Linked DNA regions of Homo sapiens: regions 1 and 3 are each linked to region 2. Evidence: promoter capture Hi-C in 16 types of primary human blood cells and fetal thymus (Javierre and others, 2016). All regions are on one chromosome and are shown on one strand. Each heading gives the region's core, a stretch centred on a gene start or on the middle of the fragment in contact. The rest is flanking DNA. Distances are from core to core; before and after follow the strand shown.

The links. The method cuts DNA at HindIII sites, captures the fragments that hold promoters and counts their contacts. A CHiCAGO score of 5 or more calls a contact.
Region 1: a contact is called between a fragment that was not itself captured here and the fragment with the promoter of OC90 in region 2, in 2 of 17 cell types (endothelial precursors and M0 macrophages). The highest score is 6.7, in endothelial precursors.
Region 3: a fragment that was not itself captured here is called in contact with the fragment with the promoter of OC90 in region 2 in 1 of 17 cell types (M1 macrophages); the score reaches 5.0 in M1 macrophages.

Annotation. Positions count from the first base shown.
Region 1 is chr8:131,050,510-131,053,357 of GRCh38, forward strand. All of the region lies in intron 1 of LOC105375760 (a long non-coding RNA gene), which reads left to right. Among named protein-coding and RNA genes, the nearest start is that of ADCY8, 11 kb to the left of the region's middle. The HindIII fragment of the contact is 1,032 bases long and covers 846-1,877 here.
Region 2 is chr8:132,057,679-132,060,814 of GRCh38, forward strand. OC90 (otoconin 90) reads right to left here and starts at 1,704. Exons shown (of 14, transcript NM_001080399.3): 1 at 1,663-1,704. RefSeq lists enhancers at 197-774, 775-1,351. The HindIII fragment of the contact is 6,980 bases long and covers 1-3,136 here.
Region 3 is chr8:130,975,447-130,978,284 of GRCh38, forward strand. The region is part of intron 2 of ADCY8 (adenylate cyclase 8); the gene reads right to left. Among named protein-coding and RNA genes, the nearest start is that of ADCY8, 64 kb to the right of the region's middle. The HindIII fragment of the contact is 941 bases long and covers 850-1,790 here.

The DNA of each region.
Region 1 (2,848 bases), core at 112-2,611, 1.0 Mb before region 2:
ACATCTTACAATCTGCAATTATCTTACTTAGTTGTTAGCTTTTTTTTTTTTTTTGTCTTCTCTGATTAGAGTGTAAGCTCTTCCAAGACAAGCACCATTCTCTCTTATTTGTCATTCTTTCCCCAGTGCTTGGTAACAGCAGAAGCTCAGTAAACAGTTTTTAATGAATGAGTAAAAAATGACCCAGTCTTGATAACTAACTAACTGAATAATGACTCTGATGTTGGCTAACCATAGAAGCAGAGTTAGCCAGATTAGGAGAAAATTTATACTTATGAGCTAGACCAGAGCAAACAAAATAAGGAAATGAGAGCCTACATCATTGGGAATGTTTCACTGGGCTCTAATTGAGATGCTTCTTCATTGAGTGATCCCTCCTAAGGAAAATGAGACCAGGAATTTAGGCACCTACTATTTATCAGGTGTAGTGCTAGTACTTCACCTGCATTATCTGATTTTATCCTTATAAGAACCGTAGGAAGATACTTTGAATGCATTTGGATGTATCTGGTGTAACTTCCCCACTTAGATCTGAGACGGTTGGACTCTAACTTTTCTCCAAAGACCAGGAGACTATTGACTAGTAACATTTTTGGCTACAAGTTGCAGTATATCTGAATAACTAGCTTAACTAGATGGTTGTTTAGTTTTCTCTAGGTAGGTGGTTGCAAGCAGAGTCAGAGTCTCGAAGGTACTTGGGTGGTAATTTTTATGGGTCTCGTGGTCTTAAGATGGCTACTGTAGGACAAGTCATCACATCTGCATTCAAGTCAGGAAGGAAGGGATGAGGGCAGCACTCTGCCTTCCAGCCTTGAACATCTATCCTGTTTTCATTAGGAAGTAAAAGCTTTTCCCCAAGCCACCTCCTTGGCAGACTCTACTTAGATGTCATTGGAACTGGAACACATGACCATGTAAAACTGCAAGGGAAGCTGCAGAAATGAGAAACAGGATTGATGTGACTGTTTTACCCTTCCAGGTTGACAATGGTGATAAGAGAAATCTATTTGGGACTATAGTTCAGGCAAAGAGAAGAACCAATGTTCAGGTAACAGTTAAACTGTGTTGCAAAAAATCCAGAAACATAAAAACCAAAAACACCCTTTAATTTTCCTTATAGCTCAGTCAAATTATGTATGTGACTGCAAACAGATTTAAAGTGCTCAAATATTTGAAACTTTTCAAAGTGAGCCATATCTATTTTCCTGTGTTGACAATTAATACAACATATAAAATAGGAGATATCAAATAGGAGAGGCTGGTCCCTTTCTTTTCTCCTGGCCTGCTCAGTCTCCCATTTTATTGTATATTCCTCACTAGCAAATATATTAAAAGAAAGATAGCAACAAACACAAACACCATTATCTCTTTGCCCCTTCAATTACTATTCTTGTGCTTTAGTCTTTTAAAAACTTGCCAGTCTTGCTAGACATCCAGAGAACTCTCAGATCTACTGTGTTCGTGTTAACTTTAGTTGGTAAAAGAAGAGGTGGAGGAAAAGAGGTAGCCTGGAAGAGGAGAGAAAAGGAGAGAGGAAAGAAATAAAGAAAGGAAGAGGGAAAGAGAAGGAGAGAGGAAGGGGATGGGGGGATAAAAGTTGGAGCAGGTTTTGAAAAGACCAAGATATAAAAGGGGAAGAGGAAGGAAGAACGGAAGAAACGACTGAGAAAGGCAAAAGAGTGAGAAGGAAGGATGGTACCGTGCAGTTACTCAGTGTGAACCCTGCGCTTTCAAATTCTTTATTGTATTTAATCTGCACAGCAATCCTGCAGGGTAGATATCATTCTTCCCACAATACAGTTGAGGAAAGCAAGCCTCGTGAAGCTCACGCAGTGATTTATTTGGATGATTCAAGAATGGGATCCAGTAACAGCAGAAGCTTTAAAGTTGGTGTGCCTGCCTCCAAATCCCAGGAGAAAGGACACAAGAGACACCAGAAGGTCTGATGAAAACGAATTGAAGGCTGGGAGGAGTCAGGCCAGGAAAGAAAGAATAGGGAGGGATGAGACAGAATAGCCCAAGGTCTGATCCAAGGGACATCTGGTGCTCTTTTGTCTTCATTAAAGCTGTGGTGATTCTTTAATGACTGTGCATACTATTCATCAGATTGATTAATTAGGTTTGAGTGTACTTCTTACAAATCCCAGGAAGGTTGCCAATAAATAGAGTTCATGGCATAGAACCCAGAAGGAGGTCATCTAAGACAGAGCAGAGTTCTTTGGCTTGGTGAGGCTGATGGATCCAAGGCAGGATTTGGTCATGAGTTCTCCATGTGCCCAGAGCCTAAGTTCCCAACTAAACTTATCTAAGAGTTTCCATGGTAAGATGACTTGGAGTGAAGTGATGGCCCTGAATGGGGGTTCCAACATAGGAAGCCCCTTTTCTCCAGGCCCTCAAATTGACAAAGGACCACAAATTTACCATTTGACATTATATCTCCATGAGGTTGTCTAAAAAAATATTCTGTTGATGTGATCTGGTAAAATACAGGAAGTGCCCAGATGAAAACTTGAAGAATGGTGGTGAACTGCTTGGGAGAGATTCCAGGAGAGAATTGCAAATGCCATTTAAGAAATGAAAGGATGCAGCACCCTTGATGGTACAGATAGAAGATGATATTTTCTGGAAAATATGGATACCGATGTTGAGAAGTTATTCTAAAGAGGATCACTTCAAAAGTTTCAGGACTGTATCTCCCAATTTCTCTTACATTTTCCTTTTTACATGTATCCAAGTGTAATATATGATAAAATCTTTATTTGGTTATACCTAAAAAGCTTTTAAAATATGTAGAAAGTTAAAATTCAAAGTGATAAAACATTGCTTCATAGTTTAGTAGAATTTTCAA
Region 2 (3,136 bases), core at 454-2,953:
TAAGTAATAATCTTCATGACCTTATTCCTTTAAACACAACATTTCATGGATTAGGTCATTCTTTGTGTCAGGTGTTCCACTGAGCATGCCCCACTTGCTGTCTGGTGACAACCCTCCAAGACTTTGGCTATCAAGACGTCTCACTTTCTAGACCAGGAAACTGGGCTCAGAGGGTGAGTCACTTGCCAGGGTGGCCCTTGCCCAGAAGGGGGCGCTCTGGCAATGACCAGACCCAGGTGGGCCAGTCTGACTTGTTCTGGCTCCAATACCCTAAACTGCTAGGCCGGTCCTTTGAGACAAACTAAGCATTCCAGTGATGACTCACTGCGTAACTGTCACAATTATCGGTAGTACTTGCTTGGGAAGACCCTTAGGGTGGCCAGCTTCTTGCTAGGGTGTGGTGAAACACAGCAGGTGACAGCTTCCTTGCTGCGCACAAAGAAGGAAAGTCAGTGCCAGCTAGAAGGTGCCAGTTAGAAGCACGTGGTCAGCCCTGGGCAACAGTGAGGATGACCCGAATCTGGGGTACGTGCACATTAGGGTACGTGGGTGGGATGGTGTGGGGCTGCTTCTGAAATCCAGTATCCTCCTGTTGGCCAAGTCAGGCGCCCTTGGCTGTGGGGCTGTGTCTACCTGGAGGAAAGACCTCCTTCTCCTAATTTGCCCAAGGAAGTCTCTGGGGCTGTCGTGGCCTCATGGGTCAGTGCTGTCCTTGTGGGCCTGAGAAGGCTCCCGAAGCCTCGCCTTGGTCTGCATGCCAGGTTTGGAGTCCCGGCTCCCCTAGCTGTCTCCCAATGGCCGGTCTCATGGCTGCATAGCCAGTGTCTGAGCCCAAGGCCTTGCTGGTCGGACAGACCTGGGCTGGGGTCAGGGAGTTCAGGCTCTGCCTTTTGCTTGTCGAGTGCCCTGAGCCAGGCACTGAAGATGCCTGGAACTCATTTTCCTGGGCAGCGAAATGCATATAATGGTGTTTTTTCATCAGGGAATCATGAGGGTTAAATCTGATGAGTCTTATAAAGGTAGAACACCATCTCCGGCACTTGCTCAGTGCTCAGTGAGGACTGCCCATAATTAATGCTGATTGTGTTTCCACACCAGGTGCCGTGGGCGGGGTCATTGCCCAGGGCTATGTAGGATCCTCACTAATGTGAAGTGGTGGATTTTTCCCCCGGGTAAATTTGCCAGGTGCTCTCTGTCTGGCATTGCATCTTTTCACAGATCGACTCAGAGCAATTTGGGTTTTCAGCTATATCCTGGAGCAACATCCAGGTCTCAGACAGCCCTGAGAGCATCCCCTACCACCTTATCCTCCATTCATTTATCTCCTCATTTCCCCTCCATTCTTCTCTCCCTTCCTCCCTCTTTCCCTCTCTCCCTCCCTCCCTTCTACCCTCTCTTTCTCCCTCCTTTTCTTCCTTCATCAATTTCTCCTACTTTTCTTCCCTCCCCTCCTTCCTCCTACCCTTTCTGCCTCTTTCCATCTCCCAACCATTTCCCTCCCTCCCTCACTCTTTTCCTCCATCCCTCCCTCTCCCCCTCCTTCTCTTTCTCCCTCCCTTCTTCTCTTCTCCCATTCATTTCCCTCCTTTACTTGCTGTCTTCCTCCCTCCCTCCCTCCCCTGCTCTCTGTCTCCCCAACCATCAGGAATAACAGATGCCTACCGTGAAGGCTCCACTGGAGTGCAGCTGGATGAATGATGCTAGGGTTTGAACAGGTGCAGACTGAGTCCTTTATACCCCAAGGAAAGACCCTTAGCCATGTGATGCCTCTCCCCACTCCTCACATCAAGAAGGAAGCCTTTCATGAATGTTGGCAGGTGGGCTGCCTCTGAAGGGAGGAGGCATCATAATACTATAGCTTGGAACAGGTGAAGGCTCCATATTAAGAAGCCCCATCTTGAGCCTCAGAGGAGACCTCAGGCTCTAATTAGAGAACAATGGGTTCCCTGTTCTACCCCACCTCACCTCAAAGGCTAGGAGGCCCATGGATTATGTCTCAGGGTCATCATGGGAACTCTCGGGGGATGAAAGACTGATGAAAGTCATGTGGGCTCTCCTGCAAGATAAAGGGCTGGCTTTGTCTGGTCTAGTTCATTCTTTAGCAAGAGGATTTCTAGCGTGATTCTTCTTATATGTTCTTGGCCTCAGATCTCGGAATTTGATGCCTCTTTCCTTTAGGGCTTTTCTGCCCAAGCTGTGGGGTAGGGTGAGGTGGGGCTTTATAATCAGACACCCAAGGTTCCTCTGCCAGCCCTGCTACTGAGTAGCAGTGTGACCTTGAGTTTGTCACTGCTCAGCTTTAGCTTCCACATCTGTTAAATGGGCTTAATCCTACTAAGATTTCGAGGCTGAAGAAAGCCATATATAGTGTGTGGTATGGGGGCTCATTAAGTCCTAGTTCTTTTTGTCACTTCCTCATATCGCCTTGTGAAGGGTTTTCTTTCCTGATTTTGAAAGGAGAACTGGCATTTATTGAGTACGTGTAATGTACCACAAGTGTTTTATAGGATTTTGCCCTCATCATCCCTGCAGCAGCCCTTCCATTACTGCTTTCATAATCCTAGGAGCAAGGATTAATTAGCTCCACTTTACAGATGAGAAAAAATGGTGTCGTTGAGGTTGAGGCATTGTAGAAGCTCACGTGTAATGGAAGCATTCTGGAATGCAGGTTAGCCTGGCTGTGAACCCTCTGAGTTGCTCACTCTATGGCCACCTCCTGAAGAAGCAGGACTCCTCAAACGATTAAATCAGGGCACAATTGAGCCTCTATGGAAGAACCCATTGAAGGGCTTCTTCAAATAAGTAATTACTCTCATTCATTGAGGCTTGTGTTTGTAGATCATTAACTATTGTTCAGCATCTCATGTGATTTGAGGAATGAAGATGCATTGTCTGTAATATTTTCTCATTAGCACCAAAGACCCACCATCTCTAAAATGACTAAGCCCGTGGGCATCTATGGCTCAGTGCAGCAAAATCCATCTTTTCAGCATCTCAAGAGCATAGCTGAGATTGTTATTATGCTCAAGAGCATAACTGAGATTGTTATTATGCCTGAGCAATACAAAGGCATAACAATCTACATAGGTATCTTGTTCGAGACATTTCATGGGGTTTTGAGAAGGATCATTTTTTC
Region 3 (2,838 bases), core at 70-2,569, 1.1 Mb before region 2:
GCAGGAGCAAGAAACTCCCAACCACAAAACAAGGTCCATTGTAGAAGCAAGAACCTTGAACTCTGGGGACACTAAGAGTGACACGGGGGATGGGGAAAGGGTACCAGTTGGTGTCAGTCCCTAAATTAGTTAAACCACAAGCATTTATTTCAAATAAGTGTCACAGTGATTCAGTGAGGCAGGCTGGATTATTCCAATGTAATAGATAAGAAAGCTGAAGCACGTAAAGTTACATTCTTTGCTCAATTTTATACAGCTAATGAGATGCAAAGCTGGTGTTCCAAACCAGGCCTGTCTAACTCTATTGTCTATGTAGCCATTAAGTTGTCTATAAATACAGTTAACAGTCTCTCAGAAATTCTTCTGCTGAAAGAATTCTAACATTGAAAGATCAGAAGTCACAGATAGATTGGGGTGTTGTTAGCTATTGGACAATTCCCAGTGACACTGCCCGCAATTCTGAAAATTACTTTTATACTATAGTAACTTCAAAATCCCTTAAAATGCATGCTATAATTTGTGATGGGGGCAGGATATTTTATAAAAGCTACTAAAATATTACTTCAGTATGCTAAAAAAAACCACCACCTATCTTTTGGAAAACTGCAAATGGTGGTGTGGAAAAGACCTTTACATTGTAAGTTTCCTCACCACCCCTCCAAGAACATTCTGTCTACTCCAAGGGGATAGCAGTAGTGATTGATCCAGGTTTTGTGGGTCCTGAGACTTAAATAACTTGGGGGTGGGGTAAGAGAATACTCTTTAAGAAAAACTGTGAAAATCATAACTGCGAACTTGCTAGGGCCCCTCTGAAGGCCTTAGAAGGGGCTTGCGAGTGAAGGCCTTTGAAGCTTAACCATCATTGGCTTGATGATAAGGGCACTTGTGATAAAGCAAACTGTATTTCATTATTGTAGGTGTCGGAAGATGCTAACACCTTGGATAACTACCTAACCCATGACTGCATGTGGACAGATAAAGCAAATTATTGCCTATTTCAAGTATTAATATGCGACAGTTTCCATAGATACCTGATTATCCCTATGCCATAATACATGCTTCAGAGGTTATTTGAACACCATCATCTACATAGCGAATTCTTAGTTTCTAATTCAATTTTTATAATTCTGAAGTCATTTCTTATTCATTGATATATATTTTATGCACTCATCTACTGAAATTTAAAAAATATTGAATTTATATTTTATCTTGATGTGGAACTGAGCTTTTCACATTTATTCAAGAAGATCATATTTTAATATCAATTGGAGGAGCTAATTTGGAAGTTGAAAGATAATTAAAATTCAAATAAGAAGCCCTTTGCTTGCAGCATTCTCAGGAGATTATATATCCTCCTCAAATATGATATTTAAAAAATTTTAAAAATAATTTACATTTGTAGTGTGTTTACAGTTAAAAATTACCTTTACATGGAGCTCATTTTATATCAAAACAACCTTGGTAGGAATTATTAAAATGGTTTTACAAGTGAGGAGACTGAAGCTCAGAGATTACCTTGCTCAAGGCCAACCTGTCCCATCGCGCAGGACATCAACCCTGTATTCTGCTTCTGCTGCATCTCAGCTATCAAGAAAACATGACCATCCAGGCCAGTGCTCCGAAACAGAAATTGATCAGAGGCTGGAAGTCTCCACCCCTTTACTACTATATCTCCTCACATTGCCTGGAGAAACTGCCCGGGTCGGGTGTGAGCGCATGGTGTTTGCAACCTCCTCCTCAGAGCCTTTAATAAATGGAATTGTCACTTTTCACACCAGCATTTAACTGTAAGCTTGTGTCAATTTTCTGCTCATGAGAAGAACAATGATCAATCCAACCTTTCTTACTTATACTCGAAAAACAGAAAATATCAGAATCAACAGAGCTTACTTGGACAATACTTGTAATACTCATTCATTCAGTGGGTCTCTTGTTTTTTGAATCATCCATAAGGTGTAATCCAACCTTCTTTGCTTTTTTCCTCTTTTCATACTCCAAACATCTCTATTGGTTTCTCCCTTTACTTATTTAAAATCAATTCAGTCTCTGGTAGTCTGAGGATTTTGCTTTCTGTGGAATGTATATATTTCACAATTAAAGAAAATGCCTAAAGGAGAGAAGCAATAAATATGGACTACACCACTGCCAGTGAGAGCTCTTATTGGGCACCTACTATGTTTCAAGATTTGCACATGAATTATGTGATTTAATCCTCATAACAATTAATGAGATAGGGATATTTATTACCACTATTCCACAGATGTGTAAATTGAGGCACAGAGAGGTTAGGTACTTGTCCTAGGACACACAGCAAGTAAGTGGCAGCACCCAGATGTGCACACAGGCATCTGGATTCATTAGTGAATTCTCCTTTTCAGGCTCTGTGTTGCAGAATCTGATTTAGAGTTCATCCTTTTCTTGGGTGCAGTGGATCACATGGGGCTGACTCTCGAGTCATAATCTTTTCCATGATTCCATCTAATCTATTGTGAAATATCTTCCACTACTCATTCATGCATCTGACAAACTGTTCTTCAGCAAACGTGTAGTAAGGAATGAGTTAGTGGCAGGCCCTGTGCTCTGCACTGGGGAGAGCAGTGGAGAAGCTTCACTCTGCCTTCACCATGCTTGCAGTCTGCTTGGCTGAGAAACTGAAAATGACTATAATGAAATATTAATTACATTACCATAGAAGTCAGCACAAGGCATCATATGTCCCTTGCATATTCCAAAGAGATTCTGGAATAATTGTGTGAAAACTAAAATGCTTTGAGCTGTTGGGGAATCAGGGGTTGTAAAGATGAAATATTTACATCCCTGTAATTAATATACAAAAGA